3 separate regions of the Homo sapiens genome follow, and all the other regions are linked to region 1. The links are contacts of gene promoters, found by promoter capture Hi-C in blood cells and fetal thymus (Javierre and others, 2016). All regions are on one chromosome and are shown on one strand. The core of a region is centred on a gene start or on the middle of the fragment in contact, and the rest is flanking DNA. Distances in the headings are between cores, read along the strand shown.

Region 1 (2,700 bases), core at 191-2,690:
CATTTTAAACAGGCTCAGAAGAAAGAATGCTGCATCTCTTTTTGAAGGACGACACACATGAATAGTTGTTCTGCACTTAAGTTTATTGTTGTTAGATGGTCTGTTTACGACCGTTTTGGTATACAGGGGGCCCAGGAAGCAGTGGAAAATGAAAATGAAGAAACAGTGGCTATATAAATACAGATTCGTTGTTCTGATAGACCTTTTAATTTAGAAAACTTCAGGAAGTACAATTTAAAGGCTCGAACCAGATTTTCTTTCAGATATTTCTGGAGAAAGTGCTTTTCTTCAATTTTTCCTTAAAAAGAGTTTTAAGAAATGAGAAGAAAATGGTCTGCATGATATACAGGCCTGTGCCAACATCAGAGTGCAGGCTGTAAGGAACAAGAACGACAAACGGTAAAAATCTCTGAGTCTTGGTCCCTTATGTCTCCTCACTGCTGTGGATATAAATCATTAGAAATAAAGGAGCGCCTTAATTTCAGGAACAAAGATCTTCTTTGCAGAATCTTTCTCACCGTAATCTTTTAAAAATTCAGGTTTTGCTTTTGAATTCCTCCCCTCCCCCCATTCCCCAGGCCCTTACTGCAGCTTGTACTGCTCGCGGTGCGCACAAACCATCTTTTCCTCAGGGCACCGGCAGCAAAGAACAGCAGATCACGAGGGCATGCAGAAGCTAGAGATCTCCCCGAGTAAGGTCTGTGGGGACAAGTCTAGGACTTCCTTACTCGGAGCACCCAAGGCTGGTAAAGTAAACGAAGCCCCTAAGCATCCAGAAAAGAGGCCCTGCAGGAAAGAACTGGCGCATGGCTCCTGGAAAGACCGTCAGAGCCGGGTAAAAATAAGTGCAGCGCCAAACGTGCTGGTCATCTAGGTGCCTTTCTCCTCATCCCAGCGAGTGCAAGGGCATTTCTCTATTACCGTGGCAATATATTCAAATATTCGAGGTAAAGATCGTCCAGCCTTCATAGGCCACCTGGTTCCGTCCCCCTCCCCCAGCTACTCGGGCACGTGTCCCGACTCCCGCCAGCAGGCCGTGGGGGTGATGTGGCCGCCATGAACCCACCAAGGACAAGTAGGGCCTGGTTTTAGCTGCAAATGCAACAAGTCTCTCCGCTGAGCCGCAGCTGCTACCCTCTGCCTTCTGCTCCTCCGCCAGGGCACGGCCCCCCCTGCGCCCCAAACTGAGCGGCAAAGTCAGGGCCCGCGGCCGGATGCTCAGAGCTAAAGGCCGCGGAGGACAGATGTGCTTCTTCCTCCTTCCCGCGTCTCCCCATACAAGTACTACCCCGCACGTCCCATCAGGCTTGCCTGTGGGCCAGGATTCAGGGTCCTGAGCCGAAACCTACCAGGAGAGAGAAGGCTCTGGAGACCTCTGTAACAGTCGTGCGGAGAAGACAAAGTCAGCTGCGTGCGTCTCCTCCGGCGCCGGCTCTGCAAGGAGGGAGGAGGGGGCGGGGCCCCACAACCACCGCAGCCTCTTAGGTTTCTCCATTGTGATTGGAAATCCGAGTACCGCCTACCCCTCCCCTCGGCTCGCTCAATCCCCTTCAAGGACAAGGGCTCAAGTATGCACACTCCCTCCCCCACCCTCCAGATGAGGAGGTCTCCTTCCAGAGGCTTCCGCTCTCAGCTGGTCTCACATCTCGCAGGCTCTTCAATGCGGAGGCCAAGTTATTTATAAAACTTGCCCATCCCCGACTCTTCTGGACTTTAACGCTCTTGTTCTATTAGATTTAGTACAAATAGAAATAAATTTCTTTCCTTCTTTTTTTTATTTTGAGACGGAGTCTCACTCTGTCGCCCAGGCTGGAGTGCAGTGGCGCGATCTCGGCTCACTGCAAGCTCCGCCTCCCGGGCTCACGACATTCTCCTGCCTCAGCCTCCCGAGTAGCTGGGACTACAGGCGCCCGCCACCTCGCCCGGCTAATTTTTTGTATTTTTAGTAGAGAGGGGGGTTTCACCGTGTTAGCCAGGATGGTCTCGATCTCCTGACCTCGTGATCCGCCCGCCTCGGCCTCCCAAAGTGCTGGGATTACAGGCCTGAGCCACCGCGCCCGGCCAGAAATAAATTTCTATGTTGCATTTCAGTTAAACTTTAAAGGACTTAAAAAAATACATCTGAATTTAGATCATCTCCGTTTTAAAGTTCATTTGATGAAAATGACTATTTTTTTCAACCTGTTTCAACAAACACGCAATGATTGCTTACTCGTTGCCTGACAAGACCAATGAGGCTTTGTCCCTGCCATCTGAAGTTCCCCTACAATTCCACCTGGTCTCAAGGTCAGGCTTTGCCCTCTAGGGGAAATGTGGGACCACTAAGTGAGATGCACTTTCTTTTTTAGTCCCTAATCGACTCCAAAGCTGGATGTTGTCATTCATTCTGTCTTCAACACTCAGCCAGTGCTTGGTACCTAAATATAGCATTGATGAATAAATGAATGAATGATAAATTGGAGGAATTCTGAAGAGTCTGGCTTCAGTTCTGTTTTCTTATAATTAAAATGCTTTCAAATATAGCCATCTCACAAACTTCCTGTATGTGAAGTGTTTTTTTTTGTAAATGCATATTTCTTGTATATGACCACTAATTCTATAATTATTGCTTCAGTTTATTCTCAGTGCCAAGCATTGGTAAAAAACATAAATATAAGATTATGCCCTTTGAGGTGTTCCTAGTCCATTGGAGACAGACAA
Region 2 (2,700 bases), core at 39-2,538, 680 kb after region 1:
TGTTGCTTGGTTTTATAATGAGATCCTCAAACTTATTCAGTCTATTGCCAAGGCATCACTGTTTAAGGAAAAGTATGAACCCCCAAGTTTTAATGTTTTAAATAAAATATTTTAATTGATATTTAGCCATCTTGTTTGTATGACTTATAGTAAGTAGCTTAGGTATTCTTTTATACTTCTGCATCTGAGTATGCTTAGCGGACACAAACAGGATTTCCTCAGGGACTAAACAACTTTTAAAACTCTATAAATGTGTAGTAGAAAAATGTAAAGGCAGGAGTCCAGATTAAACAGAATTGTCAGTGATTTGAGATAAAATTTTAAAAGGCCAATCTTCAGTCTCTGCTCAAGTTCTTCTTGTCAGAATGGCTTGGAATGGCCAGTCAAAAGCATAAAATGATGCCTGTTTCACAACCAATTACAACACCAAGGTAAATAAGGTTGTAGATTGAGAAAGGTTATAAATATAGTTTATCTGAATAAATGCATTTATTTATCTCCACTCCCTATTGTGACCTCACTAAAAGAAGAGTAAAGGAGTAAAAGTGAAAAAGATTCAGAAGAACAAGAAAAAACGAAGGAATACAAAAGCAGACAAAGGATGTCAAAAAGTTCACAAGCAGGAAAGCAATTAAACAAGTGTTAACTGACTTATCAGGAGAGAGAAAGGTCTGGGCCTTCAAGTAACTCTGTGTGTGTGTGTGTGTGTGTGTGTGTGTGTGTGTGTGTGTGTGTGTGTGTGTCCACGTGCACAGAAAATTGAGGAGCATAGAGAGAAGCCAACAAGAATCAAGCTAATTTATACTAGAGAGTTCTTGAAAGGCTCAGAAACGAAGGCACCTAGGACCTCTGGAGATGGAGGTAATGAATGAAACAAACTAAGAGGTTTGTTGGAAATCTTTAAAAAGGAGCAGTTGAAACATCTAGATCTTATTCCCCAACTGGCTTAAAACGGGAGGTTAAATCTCTAGAGACTGACCAGCACAAAAGAGAAGACCTACAGATTCTGATATGTTTAAGAGATCTCCAATCGAATGGCCAAATCCCTGTCTAACACCCTCTAGTGAGACCCATTAGTGTATAAGCTCTGCCTACACCGAGTTTCGTGGCCTCTTTTTCAGGCCTCCTTCTTAAATATGAGGGGAGAGTCAAGGATCCCTAGACATTTGAAGAGAGTCTCCAACATGAAAGTAGAGACAAAACAAGCAAATGATCACACACAGAAATCAACTCTAGGAAAAAATGATAATGCAGGAAACATAAGAAATCTTCAATAAAAACCATAATTAATATTCTCACATGGACTGAGACACAATCCAATGAAGCAAGAACAAAAGGAATGTTCAGATGACTAAAAATAAAGTCCTTTGAAACTTAAAATATGGTAACAAAATATATAACAGAATTCATAGAAAAGTTGAATTACAAAGTTAAAGAAATATCCCAGAAAGTAGGCCAAAAATATAAAAGAGGGTAAACAAGATAATAAATTATAGGCTCAAAGAAAAAATAAATATCCAAACAACAAGAAACAAAAAGCAGATTTTCAAAGACATACTAAAAAGAATCCTAAAATTTAAGAGTTCATTAAGGACTCAATAAAATGAATTTTTTAAACCTACACCAAAGGTATATAACACTGAAATTTTAGAAAATAAGAAACAGAAAATAATGGAAGTTTAAAGAAGAAAATGCATGCAAAAGATTGGAAATTATGTTGGGATTAGATTTATTTAAAGCAAGAAAGCTGAAAATCAACAACTTTACTTGGGCTCAATAAAGAACTAAAGTTACAAGGCAATTCCCCTCTCCTCCAAAATGGAGAAATGGACAAATCCAGAGCCAGAGTTGAGGTATGTTTATCTGGAGCAGAAGATGTTGAAGCCATAAACTGGTAGGAACGCTTCAGTGGTCATTTGGAATTGGCATAGTGGAATTGCTGGAGGCTAAGTGTGGACTAGAGTGAAAGGGAGAAACTCCTGGGGATCACAATCAGGAAGTCCTGGAGATCATAGTCAGGTGGGCCTCCACACTTTTTATAGTTTTACCTCCAAGAATCTCACTCACACAGGATGGGGGCCAGGGAAGTATTGGGTAAAAAAGGACAGTGTCCCTGGAGATGGCTCCACCCTCAGGCCTGTGCCCACAGACCTAAGTGAGAACAGGCACTCCTGTTTTCGTGCCCAAATGTTGCATTTTCCAAGACTGCTCTGGCCTACCATGCCCCCCATCCTGTTCCCATATAAACCTAAGGCCTTAGCAGGCACAGACGCAAGCAGCTGAAGGTTGAGCGAAGCAGAAGAACACACCAGCAGACACCAGCAGACCGGCAGACCAGCAACGGCAGAACGACATGGCAGAGAAAGAAAGAAGAGCAGGGACATCTGGATGCCAAGAGGAGTTCGGCCGGGGGCGGTTAGAGAAGAGTCTGGCAGCTGGGCAGCCCAACTCCTGAGGAAGACCACATTTCCATTCCATCCCCCTCTTCCAGCTCCCCATCCATCTTGCTGAAAGCCACCCCCACCACTCAATAAAACTTTGCACTGATCCTTCCAGCCCACATGTGATCCGATTTTTCCAACACACTGGGTAAGAGCTCAGGATACAGAAAGCTGTCACACTGGCCCTCTGCCCTTGCAATAAGGCAGAGGGTCTATTGAGCTGATTAACACAAGCTGTCTGCAGACAGCAAAGCTGAAA
Region 3 (2,700 bases), core at 90-2,589, 740 kb after region 1:
CAAGCCTTTAAAAATATCCCAAATCCAAGGTCCCCAATAGCCAAGATTTAACAAATTAGATCAGTTGATTGTCCTTCCCCAATCTGGTGAATATCTGGATCTGATCTTTTAGATCTTTAAGATTTTGGGCTACAATTCCTGGCTTATTAATGTGTAAACAGCATTTTTTTTCTAATACGGCAGTTTCAATATAATAGATTTTCCTGGTTTGCAGTTTGAATGTCTCTGGTGATGCCATTGGGCATTCTGGTTAACTTTCTGCATGGCCCACACAGCAGGCAAAAAGGTTGTCAACATATGAGCTGCTGTGGTGATTTCTCTGAAATGCATATCAAGTCATCCAGCCCCAGCTTGTGGACCTGCAAGGCTAGGAACAACCCTAGTAGTATGATTTTAAAGCTATCAGAAACCTGTCAGAATTTTGCAATTTTGTAACATAGCTACTTGCAAAAACTTCTAGAAAAACCATCAGAGTAAAAAAATAACTATTTTTGAATGACAAAATACTTAAAATGACCACAGTTAAAGATGATGATAAGCATTTATATAAATGAAATTGATGAGGAAATATGGTTATTTCTGTGACATATAACATTTTAAGGTAATAACCAGGATTATAACTGATTATACAGACAATAAGAAAATTAAAAAATTTCTAACAACTCTATATAATTTTTGGAATACCTATATCCACATAAATATAATCTAAAGAAGGTTTATCATCACTTCTTATTTAACAATGCTTCCCATACAATTTAACATACCAAATAAACCTAATTATTTTAACATCTCTTTCTGATAAGACTAGATATTAATCCTTTGTGTTTCTCCAGCAGCCCTCTGGAAAATCTCAAAATTAGGTTGAGGTCAAGCAGATTGTATTTAAGATTTGGTTTGGGGAAGGTGAAATAGTCAAAAATGTCAAAAGATTTTAAACACTTGATTAAATGGGACACTTGAAACAATACTTAGTTATCCCTGTAACCAAAATAAGAATTAATGATTTCAAAGACAAATACAGAAAGTTATATAGTTGACAAAAACCTCAGCTCTTTTAACAGAGAAGTCTGTTTTCTTAAGTTGTCAGACATGATCAAGACAACATGAAGCAAAGGAAAGTATTTTGATAAGACCAAAATCCTTTTGTTTTTAGGCAAATCACTTAGGAGGTAAAGAGAAACCTTTCATAGTCACTTACCAGGAATACACCAATAACCTAAGAAAGCTTTGTTCTTTTAACAAAAATAAGACCAAAATCTAATTTTGTCTCAACATACTTTTGATACTAAGCCTCATTTTTAAACCATTATAATAAATTCATTTCATTTCAGCCAGCCTAACTACATAAGATTATCTCTCTTCATATTATCTCTTTCTCTTTCTCTCTCTCCCCCCACCCCAATTTCTATGTCCATTTAGTTTTTGTCCTTCATTTCCCTCTTTTTCATTTGAAACAAGCTTTAAACTCTAAAATAGAACAATAATTTTCTTTTTCTCAGCAAAAAACACATCCTTATACTTTATAACTTATCTTACCAAAAATAAACCTTACTTTCCTTGTCTAATTTATATTAATTCGTTTTTCTTATTATTTCTAGTGTCCTTAATTACATATATTAATTAATTCTTAGCTCTTAGTAAACTTAATTTTCAGCAAAAATGAGGAAGTATGCCATTTCATAACTATGAGAAAGCATCGTACAATTTTTAAATGTAGCACGTTTACTTACAAACTCAAATATCTTTAGTGTCTGTAATAAGAAGCTGCAGAGTAGGCAAAATTTTATTTCTATCCTCTTAGAGTTTTCAGCTGAGACTGAGAAACAAATTTTTGTTTGTACAGATTTCCCTTTGCCTCAACTTTGCATTCTTGACAAGAATGTTACTTCCCTTCTTATAAGGGGAGAACATCTTTCATGTGGAAATTTTATCTTCTGCTTTTAAGAATTAGAAGGGAGAGGTTCCAAGATGGCCAAATAGAAACAACTCCAGTCTATAGCTCCCAGTGTGAGCGATGCAGAAGATGGGTGATTTCTGCCTTTTCAACTGAGGTACCGGGTTCATCTCACTGGGGCTTGTCAAACAGTGGGTGCAGGACAATGGATGCAGCCCACGGAGTGTAAGCCAAAGCAGGGCGGGCATCGCCTCACCCAGGAAGTGCAAGGGGTCAGGGAATTCCTTTTCCTGGCCAAGGGAAGCTGTGACAGATGGTACCTGGAAAATCGGGACACTCCCACTCTAATACTGTGCTTTTCCAATGGTCTTAGCAAATGGCACACCAGGAGATTATATCCCGCACCTGGCTGGCTGGGAGGGTCCCACGCCCACAGAGCCTCGCTCACTGCTAGCACAGCAGTCTAAGATCGAACTGCAAGGTGGCAGCAAGGCTGGGGGATGGGCGTCCACCATTGCTGAGGCTTGAGTAGGTAAACAAAGCAGCTGGGAAGCTCGAACTGGGTGGAGCCCACCACAGCTCCAGGAGGCCTGCCTGCCTCTGTACACACCACCTCTGGGGGCAGGGCATAGCGGAACAAAAGGCAGCAGAAACTTCTGCAGGCTTAAATGTCTCTGTCTGACAGCTTTGAAGAGACTAGTGGTTCTCCTAGCACAGAGTTTGAGATCTGAGAATGGATAGACTGCCTCCTCAAGTGGGTCCCTGACCCTCAAGTAGCCTAACCGGGAGGCACCTCCCAGTAGGGG

Evidence for each region. Contacts are between HindIII fragments. The CHiCAGO score rates a contact against its expected background, and 5 or more counts as called.
Region 2: a fragment that was not itself captured here is called in contact with the fragment with the promoter of LDHB in region 1 in 1 of 17 cell types (activated CD4 T cells); the score reaches 6.2 in activated CD4 T cells.
Region 3: a contact is called between a fragment that was not itself captured here and the fragment with the promoter of LDHB in region 1, in 5 of 17 cell types (total CD4 T cells, naive CD4 T cells, total CD8 T cells and 2 more). The highest score is 9.0, in total CD4 T cells.

Annotation. Positions count from the first base shown.
Region 1 is chr12:21,656,402-21,659,101 of GRCh38, forward strand. LDHB (lactate dehydrogenase B) reads right to left here and starts at 1,441. Exons shown (of 8, transcript NM_002300.8): 1 at 1,350-1,441. RefSeq lists enhancers at 993-1,082, 1,113-1,362, 1,340-1,868, 1,743-1,922. The HindIII fragment of the contact is 8,571 bases long and covers 1-2,700 here.
Region 2 is chr12:22,337,495-22,340,194 of GRCh38, forward strand. No RefSeq gene overlaps it. Among named protein-coding and RNA genes, the nearest start is that of ST8SIA1, 4.1 kb to the left of the region's middle. The HindIII fragment of the contact is 6,355 bases long and covers 1-2,700 here.
Region 3 is chr12:22,398,140-22,400,839 of GRCh38, forward strand. No RefSeq gene overlaps it. Among named protein-coding and RNA genes, the nearest start is that of ST8SIA1, 65 kb to the left of the region's middle. The HindIII fragment of the contact is 233 bases long and covers 1,224-1,456 here.